Regions from separate parts of the Homo sapiens genome. Here region 2 is linked to region 1. Evidence: promoter capture Hi-C in 16 types of primary human blood cells and fetal thymus (Javierre and others, 2016). All regions are on one chromosome and are shown on one strand. Each heading gives the region's core, a stretch centred on a gene start or on the middle of the fragment in contact. The rest is flanking DNA. Distances are from core to core; before and after follow the strand shown.

The links. Contacts are between HindIII fragments. The CHiCAGO score rates a contact against its expected background, and 5 or more counts as called.
Region 2: a contact is called between a fragment that was not itself captured here and the fragment with the promoter of DOCK8 in region 1, in 2 of 17 cell types (neutrophils and monocytes). The highest score is 12.5, in neutrophils.

The regions. Positions count from the first base shown.
Region 1 is chr9:211,973-216,114 of GRCh38, forward strand. It overlaps DOCK8 (dedicator of cytokinesis 8), which reads left to right and starts at 2,893. Exons shown (of 48, transcript NM_203447.4): 1 at 2,893-3,057. The coding sequence starts at 3,005. It overlaps DOCK8-AS1 (DOCK8 antisense RNA 1), which reads right to left and starts at 3,778. Exons shown (of 1, transcript NR_160804.1): 1 at 1,485-3,778. RefSeq lists silencers at 2,648-2,897, 2,908-2,957, 3,008-3,057, 3,228-3,367. The HindIII fragment of the contact is 3,855 bases long and covers 1,149-4,142 here.
Region 2 is chr9:247,564-255,171 of GRCh38, forward strand. All of the region lies in intron 1 of DOCK8 (dedicator of cytokinesis 8), which reads left to right. Among named protein-coding and RNA genes, the nearest start is that of DOCK8-AS1, 36 kb to the left of the region's middle. The HindIII fragment of the contact is 4,086 bases long and covers 1-3,293 here.

The DNA.
Region 1 (4,142 bases), core at 1,643-4,142:
GGAGTTTGAAGATGTTAGAGTACAGAAATCTGGGAAATAGGCAAAACTTTAGGATAGGAAATGGCTCTGCCCTTACTAGTTTGTAATCTTGGTCAAGTCACTTAACTTCTCTAAGCCTCAGTTTCTCCAGTTGCAAAGAGGTATGTGTGGGGGGGTTAATGTTATTATTTAATGGTTGCTATGAATTAATTTTTATAAAGGACTTGGAGCAGTACCCGGTACAAGATAAGTGTTATTTAGTTGTTTGTTCAATAAAATAGGTAAGATGCAATGTAGAGAAAGAGGTCGGCTTTCTGGGGAGGTAAGAAGAAGATGTGGGGAAAACTAGAGCATTTAGGATAATTGATGTATGGTCTGAGATAGAAGTCAAGGGAAGAGTTGTATAAAGGTGAAAAACAAAATTGAATGACACAAAGATACGGAGAAAGAGGAAGGCCAAGAGAGACCATCAGATGCGGAAAGAAGGAGGCCTCCCAGAGTTCTCTCTGGACAGAGGGCTGATGGAAAACGAAAGAGGCAGTGAGAATAAGGAAGAAAGGCACTTGGATGGCTATTTGCCAGCAATATGTGAATGTATCTAACAGCAGATCAAACTTGAAAACAGGCATTTGACTAAATTAATGGATAACACATTCATGGTGAATTGTTAAAAGAGTGTTAAGGAAATCTGGAGACAATTCTAACCATCAAGAAATTGACAGCACAGAGGATAATAATGCTGGCCTAACCTTCATGGTTAGGTACCAAATACTAAATCTATTGCAGTATGATCTGAGGCAAGATGGAAGGTTTTATGATTCCCACATTCACCCAAAAAGTTTCCTTGATTGCAAATGCTGAAAATCTGAGATGCTTTCATTACATTTTATTTATGTTTGTGTGAAACCAGTATATTTTTGTTCTATATGAAAATGTATGTCATAAACATTCAGAAATTCAGAGGAGTTCATCCGAAAGGCTGACATGGTACACCGTGGACCGAAGCCTCTGGGGCAAAATGTTTTCTATGTATCATTCGTTGAGTCTCAGTTTGAAGAAGTACTTACACATTTGTTCTCTTTGTATTTTGCTATCCAAATGTTTGCTCATAAATTCCAATGTAGTAAATAAGGACAGTTTTGAAAGTCAGAAACTCTAAATTTCAAAAAAGCTTTATTTTTCTTTGGGTTTGTTTTCGTATGTAGTCTATTGTAGTCTATGCAGTGAACTTTGTCTTATATGCTTAAAAGGGCACTGATATTTGGTGGGCATTGGGGGGCGGGGAGTTACCTAACCAGTACTGAAAAGTTACTAAACTACCTGACACAGCTGAAACCAGGAAGGAAGGCTGTATCAGGAAGAGACTGAATATAGTCCTTAGGTGGATTTTAGTATTAGGTGACAAATTAGGTTGTATTGGACTGGCACTGTCCAATAGGAATATAATGAGGCTCACAAATGTGAGCCACATGTGTAATTTTACATTTTTAAAAATGCAAACCACATTTTTAAAAGGGGAAAACAAACAGGTGAAATTAACTTTAATAATATATTTTTTATATCCAAAGTATCATTTAACATGCAATCAACATGAAAATCATTAACAAGACATTTTACACGATGTTTTCTGCGCTGTCTTTAAATTCCAGTGTACATTTTACACATCCAGCAGTGGGCAATTCAGACTAACCATAATGCCGAGTGGTCAATAGCCACATGTGGCTAGTGGCTATCATATTAAATAGTGCAGGTTTGAACCAAAAATACTTCGCTTTGGTTGTTTTTTTTTTTTTCTTTTAGACGGAGACTTGCTCTGTCGCCAGGCTGGAGTGCAGTGGCAGATCTCGGTTCACTGCAAGCTCCGCCTCCCGGGTTCAAGTGATTCCCCTGCCTCAGCCTCCCAAGTAGCTGGGACTAAGGCGTGCGCCACCACGCCCGGCTAATTTTTTGTATTTTAGTAGAGACGGGGTTTCACCACGTTGGCCAGGATGGTCTCGATCTCCTGACCTCGTGATGCGCCCGCCTCGGCCTCCCAAAGTGCTGGGATCACAGGCGTGAGCCACCGCGCCCGGCCTGCTTTGGTATTTTTTAAGAGCAAGTTGGTAAATGGAGGCATTATATGGAGAGTGCTCGAGTATATATAGCACAGGTTAGAGCAGCACGCCGGCACCTTGAAGCGAACACGGGCTCCTCCACTCCCGTCAACACTGGGACTTTTCTGTTTTTATCTTGAGTTTGAGGCCGGGCTTCTTAGCAGACCTCAGTCTGAAACTGAAATAAACCTGGACGCAGCGTACCCTTGAATCGCAAGAACGCCGCCTTCAGTGTTTCTCCGGAGAAAAGCATTCACGCCAGGTTGTGACGAAAACATTTTTTGAGAACTCATAATGTTTATTCCTTGGATGAATCCATTATATTTATTTAGTGTCTCAGGAAGGATGATGGGCATATTGCTTGCAAAAGTTGATTTGAATCCTGATAGATTCCACTAACTTTTTTGTCTTTTTTTTTGGCTGCCTTCTTCGAGAATGGTGTCAACCCTTAATAACACCTAGCCTTACGAATCCCTGGGGTGATTCCCGACCTCGCCAGCTTTGTGGGGCTCCCCCGACTTGCCTACATTCCCTGGCAGCCTCGCAGCTTCGGGCAGATGGAGCTTCCGGCCTGCGCGCAGTGGTCGCCTGTCGTCCGCCCGCGCTCCCTTCGGCCGGAGGTCGGCGGCCCCGGGCAGAGCGCGCCGTCTGCCCCAGTATCGGGAGGCCAGTTCCGCGCTGGGCCCACGCCCTCCTCGCCCGCCGCTGCCTGCGCGCCAGGCCGGGTGGCGGAGCCGGCCGTCGCTGCTCCGAGCTCGGACCCTCCCCCGGGGTGATTTCGGCTTAGAAGGTGGAAATGCGGAAGTTTCCAGCGCCGACCGACAGACGAGGTTTGCGCTTGGCTGGGCATGTTCCGCGGCTACTCTGCGGCGCGCCAGGCCCCCGCTTTCCGCACCCCGCGACCCTAGAAGCCACCGAACCGCCGGCGGGCCATGGCCACTCTGCCGAGCGCAGAGCGCCGCGCGTTCGCGCTCAAGATCAACAGGTAAGACGCCCCCCGCGGCGCGCAGGTTGCGGCCGGACAGCCCAGCGCTGGTGTGAAGCGGAGCTTCGCTGCAGGGGCCGAGGCCGGACGAGTCCATTCGCGTCCGCGGCGGGGCGCGCCTGAGACCTGGGGCGCCCGGTTCCCGAGGCTGCGGCGGTGGAGCCGCTGGACGCGCGGCGGCTCCTGCGCTGGGCCCGGCGAGGTCCTCCCCAAGAATCTCGGTGCTCCTGGATGTCCTCAGCCGCCGGGGATCCCTTCCCCGAACAACCTCGCCCGCTCCGCCCTCCAGGTTCTTACAGGTGGCCGGGTCCCAGAAGGGTGATAGGCGCCTGGGTAACCGTGTTGGGCGCGCCACGGAGTGTCTCATAAACGGCTCCTTCCTTTGAGGCAAGTCTGAGCGCGGGGGGAAGAAGTGAAGTGGCTGAAATTAGAGTTGCGTTTGAGGCAGGCTGCAAGCCTTCTGTCGTCCTGAGCAAGGCTCCGTCCTCGCCTGCTTCATTATTCCAGAAAGAGCTTGGCTCCTGGTGGCATCGCTATTTTTATACCCTGGTCCAAAGGAGCCATGAAGTGGAAAAAGTGATTTTTTAAAAAATCTACACTTAAATAAACCAAAAGAAATGGCCTGTGGCTGACATTTTGAGATTTACAGAACTCCAGCAAAAAGCTAAGGACTGGGGGATCCCAACTCACCATCCAATTCCTAATCAAAGTTGCACAAACTAAATATGTAAGCACATTTACTGCTCAAAGTTCTCAGTAAAGGTGCTTTAACTGCAGTTTTTCCTCCACTAAAAACTGCTGACAAGTAATTGGGACATTTTTGTCTTGCCCTGAGAAAGCTAGACTGTCTAGTTAAAAGATAATAGGAAACTCATTCTAAAGTGTCAACTTATTCTATTGCCCACAGGGCTGTCCGATTTGTTAATCTTCACTTAGCTGAGCCTGTGAAAGGTGGATTCCACCGTAGGTTCATCTTTGTGCTGTTAGTGTGTGAAGAGGTTTGAACAAGGAATTAAAAGCCTAGAAAAACAAGGCGATAAGGTCTTCTAGAGGGCATATCGAGCTTTATTGACGATTTTATTTCC
Region 2 (7,608 bases), core at 1-2,500, 34 kb after region 1:
CGCTCTGTCGCCCAGGCTGAAGTGCAGTGACGTGATCTCGGCTCACTGCAAGCTCCGCCTCCCGGGTTCACGCCCTTCTCCGGCCTCAGCCTCCCGAGTAGCTGGGAATACAGGCACCCACCACCACGCCCGGCTAATTTTTTGTATTTTTTTTTAGTAGAGACGGGGTTTCATCGTGTTAGCCAGGATGGTCTCAATCTCCTGACCTCGTGATCCACCCTCCTCGGCCTCCCAAAGTGCTGGGATTATGGCAGAGAAATGTTTGTTTCAAAAGTGTGTTAGTCTCTAAGGAAATGAATACTTCCAGACTAAATTCTGTTTATAGTATTATCATTAATAAATAAACTAAAACATTACTTCTGTTTCATTGCCCCAATGTATATTGTATTAAAATGTTCTTTTCTGATCTTCTCTAAGTTAAAAAAAAAAAAAAGAAACAAAGTTGAGTAAACAAGCTGAGCAAACTTTGTGTTGAAACTTTAATATGTCCGAGGAAAAGAATCTTGCATTAAGTCCAATACAGAGAGTCTGATAATTTGGTGGAGCAGAGAGCCTCATCTGAGGTGGCTTTCCGTGAACAGCATCTCTGAGGTGTCACCTGCTACCACATTCACTGTCCACCCTGGGCTTTGCCCCTCAAGCACCAGGGCTCAGGTCTCTTGTTTTGCCTGTTTCTCCCTATAGTCTCCCTGGCCTGTGCCTTTTAGACAAAACAGATTAACATCACCTTTAAGCCGTCAATACTGAACATTCTGTCTTTATAAGGCCTGACTCATTACCAATTTTATTTGGTCAATTTTACCTTCCTTGCTTTCAAAGGAACACCATTTGCCTATGTCAAGTGTTCTCTTTCTTTTATTTTTCCCTTCCTTCTGTCTTTCCCCTCCTTCCTTCCTTCCTTCCTCCCTCCCTCCTCTCTCCTCTCTTTCTTCCTTCCTTGCCTCCTTCCATCCTTCCCTCCCTCTCTCTCTTTCTTTCTTTCTTTCTCTCTCTCTCTCTTTCTTTCTTTCTCTCTCTCTGTCTTTCTTTCTCTCTTTCTTTCTTTCCATCTTCTTTTCTTTCTATCTTTCTTACTTTTGATGTAGCTGTCACGACCTAATGAAAATACTGGCATGAGTGATGCCACCTTTAGATTCTCCACCTTCCTGTTCCTGTCCTATTCACCAACATGAATTGGTTTGTGGCTGTAAGTACTTGGTGGGTTATTGCTCATAGATTCAGTTGCATTTTTGCTGAGATAGTGCTGTTACCAAAAGCAGGGGTGCTGCTTGAAGAAGTAAACCTAACTCTGAAAAATAGAGACTCTCCAGAAACATCATAATCTTAAGGATGGACATTTGTGGCCTGTTATTGTTACTTCATTCTAGGTGACAGAGTGAAGTGAGTGAGGGCAAAAATGACTGCACACTTATGGAAAGAGGGCTGCCTCCACCACAGACAGGTAGTGGGAGGTCCCACTCTTCCAGGTTGAACCCAATATCCTATCTTCTCCTTCCGCTCTTGGTACCTGTTGTTGCTATTGTAAACACTTCCCTCACCTGGGACTGCATATAGATGAAAGATTGCTGGGGGGTTTCCCAGGATCTTGGGCCAGTGCCAACAAATGGCAAACTTTCAAGTCTAGAGATGGTCCTATGGCATGACTGGGGGACACCACTTCCTTCACCAGAACATTCACATCCTTCCCAAGGTGCCACGCCCAGTTCTTTTGTCCAACAATAAACTCTGCGAAGTGGAGTGAAGTCACCACCCAAGCCTTAGCCTACCTCTGACCACAGCCTGTGACTCCACAAAGATAAATGAAAAGAGGAAAGTCAGTGATGTTTTCTATACTGTCAGCAGCAATCTCACAGCCTCAATACATTTTCTTTCAAAAGTTTAATATGTAATAACTGGCATTTCTTCTTCATTCCTAGTTGGTTAGACTGCATCACATCTGCCATGCCAAACTATTAAGAGTAATACAATTCTTACTCTTAGTTTATTAAGAGTAAAAACTATTACTCTTAATAGTTTAGCATGCTATTACTCTTTTCTTATTTTTTAATTTTTTTAATTTTTTATTTTTTGAGACGGAGTCTCGCCCTGTTGCCCAGGCTGGAGTGGTGCAGTGGCACAATCTTGGCTCACTGCAACCTCTGCCTCCCAGGTTCAAGCGATTCTCCTGCCTCAGCCTGCCAAGTAACTGGGATTACAGGTGCCCACCACCATGCCTGGCTAATTTTTTTTTTTTTTTGTATTTTTAGTGGGCAAGGGGTTTCACCATGTTGGTCAGGTTGGTCTCGAACTCCTGACCTCAAGCGACGCCCCCGCCTCGGCATCCCAAAGTGCTGGGATTACAGGCGTGAACTGCTGCACCTGGCTGACGTGCTATTACTCTTACAGCATCTGGACAATCCCTAACAGTCTGAAAGCTCTATAATGTTGCAGGTAGTCCAAAGGCCCTATCCCTTATTCTAGAACACAGGCTTTATAGCACAGGCTTTGGCAAGTCTGTAACAGTCTGAACTCCTCCACTGTATTCCACATACTAGGGATCTTTTAAGTTGTCATTATGTCCTGGCACAAGCATTTATCATATTTCTGGGAGCATGTAGGGTTCAAGATGCGAGGGCAAGAGAGGGCTGAGTTGTTTGTTATTAAGCTGACAGGAAATGGCCAAGGCTCATGTGCTACTGCTTGCAGTTGGGCAAAAGAGGATAAATTAATTGCTTTGTAGAAATTCCTTTCTGCATTCTTTAGGGAAAATTTTTCCATGTGAGCTAAATGAGTCAAAGGGGGTGGTTTTGGGCTCAACAGCTTTGACATTGTCCCTTCAAGGAATGAAACAATTAAAGAAACTGATCTCCTCTGAGAAAAAGACCATTTACAATAACCTATCTACTCTACATAAAATATTCCCAGTAGACTCATCAAAACAAGACCCTCTGATACCACACCATACTGGGTTTTTCCTTATTGGGATTCCCCCATGTTTTTTCTTTAATGCTTCCCCATGTTTTAGAAACAGATTTGCTTACCCGGAACCTTCCACACTCAATTCCAAATTTATCATAGTACTATCATTTGGGAGTAAACAACATGTAAGGGGCCTACACGGGTGGAAAGCCCATTCAAGAAACTGAGGATGATCAAATAGTAGAGTTGATAGTATGTGTATAATCCCAGGGAGGAGTTTCATGACGGATTAGAAGGTCAACACTGCCTGATGCAGCCGAAAGATCACATTAAAACAGGACAGGAAGGAAGTCCTGGCTGTCCAGCAAAAGGTCTTTAGTGGCTATATCAAGAGAAGCTTTTACAGAAGGGTGAGGGTGGTAGCCTGCGAACATTGGATTAGGAGTGAGAGGGACTGAAGGAAGTAGAAACTCGAGCTCAGGGGAAGGGGAGAGAATGAGCTTGAGGAAGGCCCTCTGATGAAGGGAAGGCTCTTTTCTGATGCCAGTGAGTTGAGCAGACTTATAGGAAGCAAAGAGGAGTCTAGGGACAGACAGGGATTGTCCAGGTAATGTAGGAAACATTTGACAAGGACAGATCTCGAATAAAAACATGAATGCAATTTCTGTTTCAGATGTCTCCTTTGCCTGCCCCATCCCACATTCTAGAAAAATATTTGGTGCATTAACAGATTTTGGACTTCACAGGGCTTCACTTTTATTGTGCTTAATATTTGTTCCTTGGTGAAACACAAAGAGACAAACTACACAAAAAGAGAATCATACTTGATGAAAAAAATCAATGTTTAGAAGTTGCTCTTAAATCTTTTACCCATTGCTAACATGGGTATTTGGATGCCATTTGGAACGTATTCCAGGACTACTTATCCATGAAAGGATTAATGATATTGGAGCCAGGTTCAAAGTCTCAGCAACAAGCTAAAACCTGCTCTTTTTAGTAGTCAGGGGCAAAGCTTAGTATCCTTTCTTCTGAAAGCTTTCGCATGCTAAGCTTTCCATTGCCAAGCCCCCGGGAAGGAAAATACCAGAAGTTTCACTCCGATAGCAGCTTTTTCTGAGATGCGCCTGGTGATAACATTTTCCAGTAGGGCTATCTTCTGTCTCCTTCCTTCTCTGTGTGTACCAGTAAAGCCTTGTACAAGTCTCTTAACCTTTCTTGGCTTCAGTTTCCAAATTTGTAAAGTGAAGATAATAATACCTCCCTCATAGAGTTGTTGTGAGGACTACATGGGCTAACGATCAGACAGAAAGCACTCATTAAGTGTGACTAGCATTGTTAATTGCAGTAATAGTAGTTCTAGTAGCAGGCTTTTCCAGGTTATAAGGATTAAAGATACGCTCATGTTACCTAAGTTAATGGTGCATTATTTTAAGGGTACACCAAAAAGTAAGAAGAATGGGAAACTACTTAACCAGCACATGGGGTGCAGAAGCGAGAGCAATTGTGTTTTCTTTTTTTTTTTTTTTTTTTGAGATGGAGTCTTGCTCTGTTGCCCAGGATGGAGTGCAGTGGTGAGATCTCGGCTCACTGCAACCTCTGCCACCTGGGTTCAAGTGATTCTCCTGCCTCAGCCTCCTGAGTAGCTGGGGCTACAGGCATATGCCACCATGCCCGGCTAATTTTTGTACTTTTAACATAGACGGGGGTCTCACCATGTTGGTCAGGTTGGTCTCGAACTCCTGACCTCATGATTCACTGGCCTCGGCCTCCCAAAGTGCTGGGATTACAAGCGTGAGCCACCGTGCCCAGCCCCAAGGGAATTCTTACAGCCTGACAGGTTTGGAACTCTGAGTCTCTCTGTGTGTCTGTGTCTCTGTCACTCCACCATATGTTTAGCAGGGTTAATTAATTTGCCCAAGATCACACAATTAGTAGATGATTATGCAAGATTTGAACCAGTTGTTATTCATTGGAATATGATTACTGTGTAAGTTAGCATGAGAATATTGAAAATAAATGTCTTGTTAGATTCATTTATTTTTTAAAAAATTCCTATGTAGGTCGGGCACAGTGGCTCACCCCTGTAATCCCAGCACTTTGGGAGGCCGAGGCGGGCAGATCACCTGAGGTCAGGAGTTCAAGAGCAGCCTGGCCAACATGGTGAAACCCCATCTCTACTAAAAATACAAAAAATTAGCCGGGCCTGGTGATGCATGCCTGTAGCCCCAGCTACTTGGTAGGCTGAGGCAGGAGAATTGCTTGAACCCGGGAGGTCGCAGTGAGCCGAGATCACACCACTGCACTCCAGCCTGGGCAACAGAGCAAGACTCCATCTCAAAAAAAAAAAAAGTCCTATGTATACTTCTTCACATCAATTTAGGCAGGCTTTATTTGTTAACTTTTGTTGGTAGCCAACATGCATTTAAACTACTTATTATTGTCCTAATCTAAGAAAAACTGAGAAATGGATGAAGTTGGTCCTAGGGTATCCCAAAGCACAGAGTGTTTTATTCTGTCCTTGGGACAGAGGTTTGATTCAAAATGTTTTTTCGGAAACTAGCCTTGAACACCTAATTTTATTAATATTCTTTTTACACTCCATCCCTCCTGGAAAAGGACTGGACCCCAATTCCCACCATTGCTTTTTTGGGACCCATTATCTTCCTTAGCTTCCTATGCATCTACAGGGTAGTCTGGGCTTCACTTCCTCAGTGTCCCTGTATGAAATTAGGTGGATATAGATTAGTCTGATGTAGGAATATCACACTGTACTAAGGTTTAGTTTGTATGTTATTCTCTCAAGTAACTGATCTTTCAATCGAACTAAACACTTCCTATGTGCTTTAAGGTGGTGGGAATTACAAGCATAGCAAGTTATGATTGGTCACGGATTTCTTTCCTCTTTAAATGGTGACCTACTGCCCATTGTACCTACTCAAAGCAACTTTCTTTAGGAAAAAAGACCACAGTCTACTTTCCTAAGCATAAACTCAGTTCTCATTCCACCTCTACCACCTGCAAGATTTGTTAGGCTTAAGCAGTCCCTTAACTTCTTTGAGTGTTTGTTGCCTTGCCTACTTCATTGGAAGTAAGGCTCTGGAACAGGGAAGGTTTGCCTCCATAAGACTAAAAGTTATGCTAATATAAGAGACTAGCAAAATGGGAGACATATTCAGCTCTCTTCTTGTGGGGAATACCTTGCCCTTGACCAAAAGCCTTGTCCCAGAAAGAGCCGTGTGGGTGTTGGCTTTGTGCCCAACATGTGGCTCCTCTGCCATGATTGATGGCTTCATTTAAGAAACAGGTTTTAGGATTTTTTCCCCTAAAATCTTATTCCTGTTAATTATCATGGATCAACTTTACCTTAGCTCGTTTAATACACAGTCACCTGGTATAAAAGCATGTGAAAACCCCCAGGGATCGTAACCACATTTATGCATTGAGAAAAGAGAGTGAGGCCAAGATTTTGAGATGTGTTCAAATGCAAGAAGCTTTTAAAATGCAAAGTATTCTAAAACTGTTGAAAGTTGAAGCTAACTGTTGTTCCCTTGTTGAAGGTAAAAAGTAAAGCATTTTTAGGAAAGCACTTTTCCTTATGTGTCTAATATTTGGGAACTGCATAGGAGAACAGTTTAATAGGAACCCTGATATTGACAGTAAGATATATTCTTAATGTAGTAACCAGACCCAGGGCAGAATTTGCAAACCCATGGTAGGCATACAGGTGGCTGAAGAAGAATCGGGACAGCAAGATCTCACTGAGATGCAATTCCATTCCTCCATTTGATACAGATTAAGATTTCTGAAAAAGACCATCCTCCTAAACCCTCATGGACTCTGCAGATAATATGAGGCCAGAAAATGAATAATTCCCAACTCTTGCTATCTCGTTACTGGCCAGTGTGTCTGGCTTCGCTGAGTGTGTGCCTTCTGAAGCGTACCCTATAATTATTCAGCAGGTATAGTCCAGTTCGTCCTACTTACTTTAGCAAGATTACCTTTCTTTTATTTTTCCTGTGAAAATCCTTCTCTTCCTTCTTTCCTCCTTTGTCTTTCCTCTTTGTTAACTTTTTAAATCTAAAGTGCCTTGAAAAACTTGTTTACATAGTAGTAAGAAGGAAAATGTTGACTTGTGCTATCCTGGGAACCTTGACCTTCCTGCATTATGGATAAATCATTTCCCTGCAGGTGGAAGTGGAAAATTGCAGATAGAACCACATTGACTCACATTCTCCTTCTACTTCCATTTGAGTGAGCACCAAGTATGCATCACGACTTGAGATTATAAAGTTGGCTTAATGATGAGACAGGTTTCTCAGTCGGGTTTTCCATTGGCTCGAAGTTCACAAGGCAGTTGTTGCTTGTCTCAGAGTGTCCTTAGGTGGACTACATCTGAACCCTTGGCGTTATTATAATGCAGATTCTAGCTGTGCTCAAACCAATGAATCAGAATCTCAGGAGGGTGGCGCTCAGAAATCTGCATGGTTGATCAGTTCTTTAGCAGATTCTTATTTTTGTATGCTAAAGTTTGAGGGTCACCACTGGAGAGATTCCAGAACAGGGCCTGCAAGGGAATTGTTCAAAGTTTGCTCAAGTTAACTTTGTTGTTACAGCATTAGCTTGAATATCAGGAGGTTTTGTATTTAAGTTCTCTAAAAAAAGAAAAAGAAAAAAAGAGAACAGTCTCAATATATAAAAGGAAAGGTTTTC